Regions from separate parts of the Homo sapiens genome. Here region 2 is linked to region 1. Evidence: promoter capture Hi-C in 16 types of primary human blood cells and fetal thymus (Javierre and others, 2016). All regions are on one chromosome and are shown on one strand. Each heading gives the region's core, a stretch centred on a gene start or on the middle of the fragment in contact. The rest is flanking DNA. Distances are from core to core; before and after follow the strand shown.

Region 1 (7,129 bases), core at 459-2,958:
CAGCCCCTGAGCCTGGTCCAGGCTTGGCACTCCCCAGCTCCCCAACCATGTCTGAGGTTGAGCAAGGGGCTGCCTCCACCTGTGCAGCTCCCTGGGCACCTCCCCACAAACCTGCTGTCCTGGGTGTGCAACATGCACAGCCGTGCAGAGGCCTGCTGCACCTTCTGATCCCTTAACACAGGCGGACAGACGGACCCAAGGCTGTTCCATGACAGCCCCCCTTTATAACGCGTAGCTCACACCTCCTGAGGGCTTTCTGATCATGAGCATCAATGTACATGTGACCGATCCCGTTAGAGGCTGACGCGCACAGAAGCATCTCACTTAACACCTCATTGCGCAGAGGAGAGAATGGGGTCACAGGCGGGTGGGGGACCATGCAGAGAGCCAGGTTTAACTGCTGTTTCTGTGCTTATTCCCACCTCAGCACAGATCAGAGGAACACGTGGAGATCTATGTGGCTATGTGCACGCGCACATCTACACACATACATACACATCTACACACTCACACACATCTACACACATACATACACTCACACACAACTACACACACATCTACACACATACACACACATCTACACTCATACACATCTACACACACTCACACACATCTACACACGTACACACACACATCTACACACACATCTACACACATACACATCTACACACATACATACACACATCTACACACATACACTCACACACCTACACTCATACACACATACACTCACACACACATCTACACATGTACACTCACACACCTACACACATACACATCTACACACACTCACACACACATCGACACACACACATCTACACACATATCTACACACATACACACATCTACACACATACACACACACACAGCTACACACACATCTACACATACACACACATCTACACACATACTCACACAACTACACACACATCCACACACATACATACACTCACACACAACTACACACACCTACACATACACACATCTACACACACACATCTACACACATACACACAAACCTACACACATACACACATCTACACACAGACACATCTGCACACATACACACGCATCTACCCAATACACACAGACACACTACACACATACACACACATCTACACACACACACATCTGCACACATACACACATCACACACTCACACACATCTGCACACATACACACACATCTACACACATACACACAAACCTACACACATACACACATCTACACACAGACACATCTGCACACATACACACGCATCTACACAATACACACAGACACATCTACACACATACACACACATCTACACACATACACACATCTGCACACATACACACATCTACACACATACACTCACACACATCTGCACACATACACACACATCTACACACATACACACACACCTGCACACATACACACATCTACACACATACACACACATATCTGCACACATACACACACACAGGCACCCATGTGCACACACCACACCCTCTTGTACACATATACATACACAGCTGTGCACTCACATGCACACAGGCTCATGCACATACTTCTCTCTCACACACAGTGCTCACTCTACCCAAGGTCCCAGCTCCGTGCACACGCACCCTGATGCCTGTGTGACGCTGCTCCTGCCCCTTCTCCCCCAGGCCGTGTCCTCCTCATTTGGATCTCCCCTCCAGCGGGGCCTCCTCGGAGGAGCCAAGGGATGAAGGTGCTGAGGGCCTGGCTCCTGTGCCTGCTGATGCTGGGCCTGGCCCTGCGGGGAGCTGCAAGTCGTACCCATCGGCACTCCATGGAGATCCGCAGTGAGTGCCTGGACCCCTGTCAGCCTCCCTTACCCCACCCTGCCTCACCCCAGAACCTAGTGCAGCCTGGTCGCTCGAGAACCTGGCAGGAACGGGGTGCGCGGGAGGAAAGGGAAGTCAGTCTTGGTGCTTTTTTGAACTCCTGCTTCCCAAAGCCAGCCCACGCCCAGAAATGGCCTCGCCAGAACCTCTGGGTGCCTGTTCCTCGGGTGGCTCCCAGCATGGCCTGGCGACTGGGCTGAGAGGCCCTGCCTGTGCACTCTGCCCCGCTGCCTCTGGGAGCACAGCACACCCTGGGGACACGTGCCCATGGTCTGCTCCAGCTCTTTCCTTTCCAGCCCCTGACATCAATCCTGCCTGGTACGCCAGTCGCGGGATCAGGCCTGTGGGCCGCTTCGGTCGGAGGAGGGCAACCCTGGGGGACGTCCCCAAGCCTGGCCTGCGACCCCGGCTGACCTGCTTCCCCCTGGAAGGCGGTGCTATGTCGTCCCAGGATGGCTGACAGCCAGCTTGTCAAGAAACTCACTCTGGAGCCTCCCCCACCCCACCCTCTCCTCTCCTTCGGGCTCCTTTCCCTTCAATCCTAATAAAAGCTCTGGTCTTCAGTTACACATTCACGACTGTGTGGTGGTGACTCTGAAGTTGTTCCCTCCTGGGACATTAGACTAGAAAGAACCTCAGAGCCCAGCAACTTCTTTGGAAGAAAAGGCTTTGTGACTTGGCAGAGGGCACTTGGCACTGAGTTGGGGCGCTGGGTCTACCCTTGGTCACCGGCAGCCCACAGCCACCCCCACACCCAAGCTGCCCTGAGTGGCTGCCCAGGCTGTCCACTGCAGAAGGCCAGGAGGTGCCACGCGTCATACTCTGCAGGACACTGTCCCCATAGGACGGTAGCACAGCCCCCAGCCTGAGCCCTGGGCAGCCCCTCAACTTCAGTCCTTTTTATTTAGACTATTTTTCAGAGCAGCTTTAGGTTCACAGCAAAATTGAGTAGAAGGTACAGAAAGTTCCCATCCACCCCCTTCCCCCACATCCGCACAGCCTCCCCCATGATCAACACCCCCACCGAGGGTGCTTTTGTCCCAGTCGAGGAACCCACACTGACACATCCCCATCCCCAACCAGCGTATGTCAGAGCCCACTCTCCACGCTGTGCGTCCTGTGGGTTTGCACAAATGTACAACAACACGATGTGGCATCACGCAGAGTCGTTTAACTGTCCTAGAAGTCCTCTGGGCTCCCCCTACTCATCCCTGCACCCCGCAACCCCTACAACTGCTAGTCCTCTCATTGCAGTCTGTCTTGCCTCCCTCTTACTCAGGGAAGATGCATCATGGATTGTTTCTGACCCATGGCAGGGAGACTTGAACCTAGATTGCTCCCACGCCACGTGCGTCCCTTTCAAATCACACGGGGATGTCTCCACATCCTGCCTCAGGTGTAGCTTAGGTTGGCATTGGGGGCACACTTGCACCACCTGGGAGACTGAGTTCATCCCGTGAATCACTGAGCCTCAGTTTCCACAACTGCATGCCACAGAACAGCAACGCTTACCTCATTCCTCAGCTCCGTGGGCGTGGCACCTGCACGCCTGCCGGCACAGGGTGGGTGCTCTGTGAGTGCAAGCCCCTTCCCCAAGGCCCATCCTCCACCCAGCCATGTAACAGGCTTCACCAGCTCCCTCCAACCCAAAGCTTGGCCTGGACTCTTGCTGGACCCTGCCTGCAGATGCTGATCTCAGGAGCCCATCCTGACCACAGCCCTCTTGGCCATCCATGCTCAGAGGGGCCAGTGGCAAGGCCCAGACCACCTACACGGGGCTGAGTTGGGGTGACTGCACCTCCCCAGCTACAGGGGAGCCCCTCCAGCCCTGAGCCACCTCGCCAGGGTAGAGTGAGCCTGCAGGAACAGGAAGGGGGGCAAGGTCTGTTCCGAAGGCAGCAGGGGCTGGGTCAGGCCTTAAAGAGGCCACAGCCCTCAAAAAGTTAAACACGGAGTTATCAAACGACCCAACAATTCGCCCCAGGTGTAGACCCTGGAGAACTGAGGGCAGGTGCTCAGCACATCACAGCAGCGTTTACAGCAGCACCCTTCCAAGTAGCCAAAGGGTGGACATGACCTGAATGCCCATTGCCTTAGTCAGTTCGGGCTGCTCTAATAAGATAGCATAGGCACAGAGGCTCAGCCAGTAAACACTCACTCCTCACAGTTCTGGGGGCAGGAAGTCCAAGATCAAGGTGCTGGCTGATCCGACACCTTGATCCGACACCATCTTCCTGGTTGACAGACACCGTCTTCTCGTTGTATCCTCACATGGCAGAGAGCAGAAACAGGAAGCAAGCTCTCTAGCCTCTTCTTATGAGGGCACTAATTTCATCCATGAGGGTTCCACCTTCATGACCTAATCTCCTCCCAAAGACCCGATCTCCTAATACCACCATAATGGGGGGAGGATTTCAACATATAAATTTGCAGTGGCGGGGACACAAACATTTCATAACACCCATCAACAGAAGAATAGAAAAACACAGCGTGGTCTATCCATGCAATGGAATATTACTCAGCCAGGAAAAGGAATGGACCACTGATACATGCCACAACACGGATGAACCTTGGAAGCATCATGCTAAGTGAAAGAAGCCAGGCACAAGAATTCAAATGTTGTATGATTCTGTTTATATAAAAACGTTGTATGACATTGCATATTCTATGGAAGCAGATTCATGGCTGTCAGGGGATAGGGAAGAGGGGTGGGGGGATGACTGCTTAATGGATATGGGGGTTCCCTTTTGGAGGTGGTGAAACGTCTTAGAACTGGACCACGGCAGTGGCTGAAGAACAGAGTGAATGTACTAGAAGCATATTTTCAGCATCCTTCTCCCACGAATAAGGCCAGTCTCCTACATAGCCATAAAATCATCATACCTGAACAAACCGTTGTAGTAATTTCACAATATCATCTAGTTTTTAGTCTGTACTCAGAAATCCCCACATGCAGCAAGACAGTCTCCTTTTTCCCCCACCGGGCTCCAATCTGCATTCACAGTCCGTTGTTTCTCTTTGATTTCCGACCAGTTAATTTTTTATGTTGTCCTGGTGTTGAATTTTTCAAGCACCCAGATGAGTCGTCTTGGAAAATGCTCCACCTGTGTGATTTGTAAGTTGTTCCCCCAAGGTGATGTCCCTGTTCTTCCGTTCCCTGTACTTCCTGTCATCAGAGAGGGGCATCCAGGATCTTGCCTGGATTCAGGTCGCGCACTGTGGACCCAAAAACTGTGTCCTTCCCACTGCATCATATCTGACCATGGGATCCTGGGCTCCCTCTCTGACAGTGCTATTTGACCCTGTGGTAGAGACAGATCTCTTCATTGTAAGAGGTTTTTTCCCTGTGTGATCAATGTGAAATCTGTGCTGGGGCCAGGGCCCCATGGCCAAATCCTGTTTCCCAGCCAGCTTGCGGCCTGAGATGTCAGTGTCCCCTGACTACCCATGCCAGGCTCAGCTGCTGCACCACCAGTCACCCCCACACCATGGTGATTCTCTAATTCCTTCCACAGTCATTAGTTGGATTCTTCCAGAGAAGATATTTCTTTTTTTCTTTTTTTTCAGAACTTTATAATTTTTGACACTCGAATTGGCCTAAATTTGGCCAGTGGGAGTCCTAAACAGGGAATAAATTTTAAAAAAATTAAAAAGAATAGTTCTGTGAGTCAGCCACTCTGGGAAACGCAGACCCATCAGAAGAATGGGATGGGAACATACTCAAGAGGAAACAAGACAGGGCGGGCACGGTGGCTCACACCTGTAATCCCAGTACTTTGGGATGCCGAGATGGGCGGATCACTTGAGGTCAGGAGTTCGAGACCAGCCTGGTGAAGCCCCATCTCTACTAAAAATGCAAAAATTAGCCAGGTGTGGTGGCGGGCGCCTGTAGTGCCAGCTACTTGGGACTGAAGCAAGAGAATCACTTGAACTTAGGAGGCAGAGTCTGCAGTGAGCTGAGATCCCATCACTGCACTACAGCCTGGGTGACAAGAGCAAAACTCTGTCTCAAAACAAAAAAAAAAAAAAAGAGAAAGAGAGAGAGAAGAAAAGGTTAGCATCACAGGCTGGGATGGCAGGGGCTCCCAGGGCCACTCATCAACATTGCCATGCCTCCGGCATCCACCACCACCCCCCACAGGCAAACAACAGCTCACGAGAAGACCCAGGTCCGAACTCAGGCTAAGCAGGGCTGGAGCTGCTTCCCCAGCAGCAGCCTGGACAGTGGGTACATGGACCAGCTTCTCCCAGGATCTGGGGCCAGTGGGGTCCTGGACCCATTTATCCTGAATCATCTGCGACACAAATGTCTGCAGCCCTGCTGGGGCCTCTCCCTGTGTGCTTGCAGAAATAGGGCCTTCCTGCCTGCTGCCCCACCCCAGCCCCGTTTCGGGACAGGAAGATAAGGTGGTGGAGCACTGACACAGGTGAGTCTTCCACACGCAGGTGTCAGGGGCGGCGGGGGCTGTTTTCAGGAAAGCCTGCCTGTTCTTTAGGTCTCTGGGGAAAAAAAACATGCTTTCCTCCCTTTGTTGGATACACATGTGTTGAGTGCCTGGTGTGTGCCAGACAGTGTAGAGGACCCTGGGAATCCCACAGAAATCAGGACAGACAGAGGCCCTGCCCTCACTGAGGTTCTCAGCCTCACCTATGCTCACCTGGAAGGATTTAGAAATCCCTGGGCAGTCTGATGGAATCAGAACCTCTGGGTGATATGCAGCTGAGGCGCTCCATTTTTTTTTTTTTTTTTTTTGAGATGGGGTCTCATTCTGGTGCCCAGGCTGGAATGCAGTGGCTTGATCATGGCTCACTGCAGCCTCGACCCCCGAGGCCTAAGCAATCCTCCCACCTCAGCCTCCAGGGTAGCCAGGACTACAAGTGTGCACCATCATACCCAGCTAATTTTTTGTTTTGCTTTTTGTAGAAACAGGGTCTCCCTTTGTTGCCCAGGCTGGTCACAAACTCCTGGCCTCAAGTGGTCCTCCCGCTTCGGCCTCCCGAAGTGCCAGGATTACAGGCATGAGCCACCGCACCCTGCCCCGGTGTGGGGCTTTCCGAAGCTCCGCAGGTGACTCCAGCACAGGGTTGAGCCCCACCTGCCTAGTGGTGAGGGAGGAGGGGAAAGGGGCAGTCACAGTCCTGGGAGACCCAGGGTTCCAGGACCACCACAGATCTGTCCACTCTTGGGGAGGCCATGAAATGATTCCTGAAGGAGTCAAAGGACACATTTTAATAATAAATGCTGGCATAGTCACAGGAGGTCGTCAAAACAGAGGGGG
Region 2 (6,632 bases), core at 3,104-5,603, 470 kb before region 1:
GAACCTACAATAATAAGTGTAAAGCCACAGAAGGAAGAGCAGACAGTGGCTGAGTGAAAGCTGGAGAGGATGTCGGGCTCAGATGAGGGGAAGGGATGGGAGTGTCGGCAGTTTTTAAGGAATCTGAGAAAACAAAGCCTAAGTGTTGGAGTCGTGCCCCATTTTGGTCCTCGTGATGCCATCAACAAGCATGTATTTGGCATATATTTCACTGGAGATGCTAGGTGTTTGGGGGACTTTGAGGATAAGAGATACCCCTTCCTGTCGAGAAGTTTGGAATATAATTGAAAAGAAGGGGATAGGTGGAACAGTGTCTGCCGTAGTGGAAAGTTGCTTGTTAAAGTAGAAGTGTAAACAATACTGCTGAGTTTAGAGAAGGGCAGAGATCGTAATGAATTATAAACAGACTTAGGAATGGTAGAGAGCAGACAGGAGGGCATTTCAGGCCACGGGATAGCATAAACCAAAAGCCCCAGGGGGAGAAGGTGTAAGACTTGTCTGAGAGCCAGTGGACTCGTTTGGCACAAAGGGTATCTGGGGGAATTGGTGTAGTTTGACAATGTCCCAGGAATGGAGAGAAGATTTTAAATATGTTAGGGTGTTTGTTTTACATATGTACACTGGCCTATTAAATATGGAAAGTAAAATCCAGAATATTTCCTAAGCATGTTGACCACCAGGTGGAGGAGCTCTTGCATTACCAATGAGCAATGCCCAGGGAGAAAGGCCAGCTGGTTTCACAGTGCTCAACTCTACCGTACTCCTGAGTTTATTTAATTGGGTATGGAAGCCTGGGGACAATCCTAAATGCCACTTTCAGGAAAGTTTTCGTTGCTGGTATTGTTTGGCAGTCCCTTCTTAGAGTCATTCTTTCAAGGTGGGAATTTAGGATTTTGAACCTTAATTCAGTCAAGAGTTTGATGCAGACTTGGAAGAATGCTCCAGTTACAAGATTTGTTCTGTAACTCCCAGGTGTGGTCCTGTATTAGAGACGTTTTTGAAAAGGACAGCTGATTACGCAAATCAGTTTTCTGCTCCTTTGATTCCAGCATTTGTAAATGAAATAAGATAAGTAAAATTTATATCCCCATTGCATAAACATACTGCATTTTCTTAGGGTTAGAGCCTTGTGTTTAGTAACCTTTTTCCATCTTTGTAATTTTCATTATCTGAGATTTTTCATCCAAGAGGAAGTGTAAGAAATGTATTTTTTTCCAGCAATATTTGAACCCCCCGTACATACTGGGCATATGTATTTGTATCTATAAGCACAGAAATCTTTGGGTTCATCTGGCCTTGCTTATGAAAACTAGACAAGGACAGTGGTGTGATTTAACAATGTGCTTTGAAAATGCTGCTCCCTGGTTCACTCTCTGCCAACCCACCACTCCCACAATAGATGCAACAAGGAGACGCGCCTTTGCCCTGGTCTCTCAAGCGTATACTTCAATCATCGCCGATGATTTTGCAGCCTTTGTTGGACTTCCTGTAGAAGAGGCTGTGAAAGGTAATTTTGGCTTACTTTTTACTTATAAGGAAAATGGAAAATAGAAGTGTGAATTGTAGGTTCACAGTCTCCTCTGAAACACTTGGAACAGAATATGCTTTTGGAGTCCAGGCTGTGTTTTTTGAGAGGTGATATGAAACAGGTGTTGTGGAACACCCAGCAGGCACCCTGCAGTCAAGCATATTAATAGTTCTATAGCAAGCAAATGTGTGAGTATCCACACAGTTGGTTACAAAAATATGTCTTAATTGGTCTCTTTACTCATATTTGGAAATCCTTATTTCACCCTTATTTGATAAAGGCAGCATCATCCCCACGTCCCTTTTCATTTTCCCTGCCATTTCTGACCCATACCCTAGGCGCTTGCTTGCTCCCCACTCATACCTGCTGGTCTCTCCAAATGTAACTTTGCATTTTCATTTCTCAGCTGATGCCCAGACTAATCCTTCCTGTTGCTCGTTGTTATAGAATACTGTATACACCTGGCCAGGTGCAGTGGCTCACACCTGTAATCCCAGCACTTTGGGAGGCCGAGGCGGGTGGATCATGATGAGGTCAGGAGTTCGAGACCAGCCTGGCCAACATGGTGAAAGCCCGTCTCTACTAAAAATACAAAAAATTAGCCAGGTGTGGTGGCAGGCACCTGTAATCCCAACTACTCAGGAGGCTGAGGCAGGAGAATCGCATGAATCCAGGAGGTGGAGGTTGCAGTGAGCTGAGACTGTGCCACTGCACTCTAGCCTGGGCAACACAGTGAGATTCCATATCAAAAATATATATATATATCGTATACACCTTGTTGCATTGTTTTGCCATGATTGACATTTTTGATTCTCCAGCTAAAATATGAGCACCATCACGCACTACATCCTAAATTTCCAGGGCCTAGCATAGTTGTAGATACATGAAGATAGGTTAATGAAAGTTCTAAGTTATTACTTTTATTTACTCATACAAACATTTATTTCTTTTGGCTCTTAAAATTGGTCCATCATTTATTTTCTATATATAACATACTTCAGAGCTCGTATTCTCAGCTGACCACCTGGATGTGAATGCTGGTACCACCCGTCCCTGATGCTAGTGGCTATGTGACTTAGGACAAATCACTTGAATTTCCCTCAACTTTATTTTCCATACCTGTCAAACGATGGCCCTATATCCCACTTCATAGAGTTGTGGTGATTACATAAAATCATCCCTATAAAAGCACGTAGTCTGGTACCTACAGGTAAACCTTCCATATATGGAAGCTGTTTTTATTATTGCCATCTTTGTTATTACTGATATGATGGTCACAAAAGGCGCCATATCAGTTTTCCTTCTGTTTGTTTTAAATAATACTGATTAGGTTAATACTATAATATATTCTTGACAGAAAACTAACCATCTTTTAATGATTATAGCAACCTAATAGAGTAAAATGAGGCTTTGATACCTGTTTCAGAAATATTTCAATAATAAGTTTCCATGCTCTTTGTAATATACCTTTCTAGTAAAAATGCATATGACGGGTTATACTAAACACATCAGGTCTTCTGTACAACTAATGTCATGGACAAGTTGTGGATTTTGTGGGGTGTTTTATTCTTTCCGGATCTTTATGTGTAATATACTTTTTTAGGCATATTAGAACAAGGATGGCAAGCTGATTCCACCACAAGAATGGTTCTGCCCAGAAAGCCAGGTAGGTGGAGCTTTCACCCATTTACGCAGCACTGGACTCTTCTAAGACTGCTTCAGGTTTTCAGTCTTTGGTTTTTGATAATTGGATGTAAAATTCGGCTATACTAACACAATGGAAATAACTCATTTTAAATAAAGCGTAGTAGACGGGGTAGAAAGGATCACCTAGTTTAAACTCTTAAAAATGTATTTCCTGTATATAAATGATTTTACGTAGGTTTTTCATGGTCCTTACACCTTAGTTTTTACTAAATATTAATCTCCATCCTTTTATGGAGCCATTTGTAACTGAGCTTATCCTTCATATCCAAGCTGTTGTCTGTATTAAAAAAAAATGTTTAAATATTCAACTGCCCCCCTTTTCTGTTTGCACTCAAGTCATACAGGCACTTTTCCTGTGGCTTCCACTTTCACAGAGTTAACTTCTCTAGCCCTCCTTTTAAGGCCTTAATTTCTATGACCTGCCCTCATTGTCTTTATCTGAATTCCCAGCCCCTCAGTCTTCCTGTTGGAAGTGAGCCACACTCATTCCCGCCTGATAGTTTCTCTTCCTCCTGCTGACCAGGAGTGTCTTTTCTGCCAGGTCTTTAGAGCCAAGCTTAATGCCCACTTCCATAAACCCGCCTTCATCCACGTCAGCCCAAATTTCCTTCCACCTACTCGGAATGCCTATGTTTAGACATTGCTGAACATACAGTAAAGGATTCTCAATGTGCTCAGCCCTTTGAGTTACAAAGAGTGAGAAGACATGATCCCAGTCAAGTGAGATAGTGGGGGAAGAGTAATATAATAAAGAATTATAATGGAGCACAGTTGTTATCCCTGTTTGAGAAATAAATGGCCGTTAAATGCATGTTGTGCTGAAAATAGCATGTTCTATGAAAGATCTTTACAATGACTTCTGTAAATTGAGCTGTACATTTTTTTTTTGAATTTAGTTGCAGGGGCCCTGGATGTTTCCTTTAACAAGTTTATTCCCTTATCAGGTATGTATTTTCATATGCACATTTTTTAATGTCTCATTGTTCCTAATTTCTTTTTTGTAGTATATATGTATATGTGTGTGTGAGTGTGTGTATCTATTTCTTACCTTGTAAACAGAGGTTAAATTTCATAAATGCGTAGTAATACATCTGGTTACAAGAGTGAAACTGGGCTCCCCCAGAGCTTGCCTTGAGGCGGTGCCCTCCTCTGGGCCAGCTGCAGAGCCTTCTTATTCTCATGTCAGGGAGGCCTGCCAGAGCTGTTCACCAGTACTGTTATTCAGAAGGCGTCCCCAGGCTGACGTGTAGTAATTTAAATGTTGGAATGTAAATTCCTTGAGGTTCTTTGTGGGTTTTCTTTTTTTTTTTTTTTTTTTTGGTTTGTTGACAATTTAATATTCTTCAGTGATGTCTGGGGCATGGGAAGCACTCTATTTCTTGAATTTAATGTTGCATGGGTAAGGATGTTTTCAAGAAGAGCTGTGATCTTTTAAAAGACATGTTGCATGATAAAAGTGTCTTTAACCTTTACATAGAATACTTCAGTAACAACAACATGAGACATGCCTTTACTAGCAGTTAGGTAAAACCATACTCATAAAAGTTGCAACTTCTTGGCTTGCTTTTCAAAAATGTCCAAGCCTCTATGATGTAAGATTTTGTCTAAAACCAGGACAAATCTAAGAAAGTTAACTTACTGTTAAAAATTGAAGGCATTAGGGGAGGTAGGTGTTGGGGCCAAAGCTTTGTTACTGTGGTATGTAACATGAAGTGTGTTTGTTTCTTTAACATACAGAGCCTGCTCCAGTTCCCCCAATACCCAATGAACAGCAGTTAGCCAGACTGACGGATTATGTGGCTTTCCTTGAAAACTGATTTATCACTCTGAGTTCAAGATTCATCTTCAGAATCCTGTATACTGACAAACGTAGAAATGTAAAGTTTGTATTTTCAATTTATTGGATGGCTTAAGCACCTCAGCATTCCTTACTATGTGATAAAATACATATAGAATATAAGATATACTATATACATTTTGTCCATAAACGTTATGCTGAATAGTTGTTGAAACAGTTCTCATTTTGTAGTATTTAATAATCTGGATGGAGCCTGTCAGTATTACAGTTAGTTTTCTAGTGACTCATAAAATAAGATTTCCTGTTTCATGTAGAATAGTGTTTGTCAACTGTCTTTTCTCTGTCCCAGCACATGCCGTACTCTTATATGTACCATTGGTTGATAATTATAATGATTCATTTGGACTTGAAGAAAGATTGTCCCCAGGCACAGTATCTGAATCACTGGGGATTATGATTCACCCTCTTTGGAGAACATGCTCTCTTTTCACCCCCCACCTCCTGAGAGCCACTAATGTAAGATACAGAAACATAGCTGAGGAACAAATAGACCATTTCCATACTAAACCAGTTTGTTAACTTTAGATTTTTTCCAATAGTGTGAGTATATCCATTGCTGGCAGTGGAGGGCTTGCCATGAAAATGCAACTTATTTAAGACATTTATGAGACATATTAACTTGTGCTGTCGCCTTTTAGAAGGAGAAACTTAAGTGTGGAATGCATTATATGGGCAAAGAAGCTATGAAGATACATGATACACTTTGTACAACTATCCTGCAGCCCATTGGTTGCTTATATTTATCGCTTGGCTCAAGTTCTGCCCTTTGGAGAAATACTGAGCAAGTCTTTCATTCTCTGTGTGACAGCCCTCTGAATATTTGAAGTTGTTTGTTGTAACTTAAGGTTATAACAGCCCTTAGTTCATTTACTCTGCATTTGTTCAATAAATATTTAACTGAATTCTTCAATTATTTCATCTAAGATAGTTTCTGGAAATTTCACTCTCGATCTTTCTGTGGACACAATCTATTTTGTCATTGTGTCTATATGAATCTCTTAAGTAGAAATGAGTTGTATGGTGAATCTGTGTAGTGATAATTATATAATTTATTTATTTTGAATGCATTTTAGTGGCTATTTCAGTTTTTCTTAACATATATGGGAATACTTTTTGAATTGCAATTTTATTTAACCCGGATAGGTAAGTCATATTAAAATTCCTTGTTTTACAGTTGAGGAAATGGGAATTCAAGAAGTCAGAGGATCAGGAGAGTGATCAAGAGAATGACAGTGCCAGTTTTTTTAACTTCCAGGTATTAAGTACAAATTGTATCCATGGTTATTTTTTAAAAGCAGATTAGAGTCAATCCAAATATTCATTAATAGGGGATTGTTTGAATAAACAGCAGTGTAGACTACGCAGGTGTAAAAGGAGTGAAGATCTCTATACTAAACTGGAATGATCTCCAGAGTGAGAACATAGAAAGCACATGTAGTTTATATGGTTATTTTGAGGGTAACAAAAGGAGAATGATTACAATTATATATATGTACATATTTCCTTATATTTCAAAACTAAGCAATTGGGGGATATATA

Evidence for each region. Contacts are between HindIII fragments. The CHiCAGO score rates a contact against its expected background, and 5 or more counts as called.
Region 2: a contact is called between a fragment that was not itself captured here and the fragment with the promoter of PRLH in region 1, in 1 of 17 cell types (endothelial precursors). The highest score is 6.6, in endothelial precursors.

The regions. Positions count from the first base shown.
Region 1 is chr2:237,564,866-237,571,994 of GRCh38, forward strand. It overlaps PRLH (prolactin releasing hormone), which reads left to right and starts at 1,709. Exons shown (of 2, transcript NM_015893.1): 1 at 1,709-1,808; 2 at 2,147-2,310. The coding sequence starts at 1,709. The coding sequence ends at 2,310. The HindIII fragment of the contact is 5,293 bases long and covers 1-3,500 here.
Region 2 is chr2:237,092,691-237,099,322 of GRCh38, forward strand. It overlaps COPS8 (COP9 signalosome subunit 8), which reads left to right. Exons shown (of 8, transcript NM_006710.5): 5 at 1,400-1,507; 6 at 3,132-3,194; 7 at 4,132-4,179; 8 at 4,973-6,632. The coding sequence ends at 5,052. Among named protein-coding and RNA genes, the nearest start is that of COPS8, 10 kb to the left of the region's middle. The HindIII fragment of the contact is 1,129 bases long and covers 3,790-4,918 here.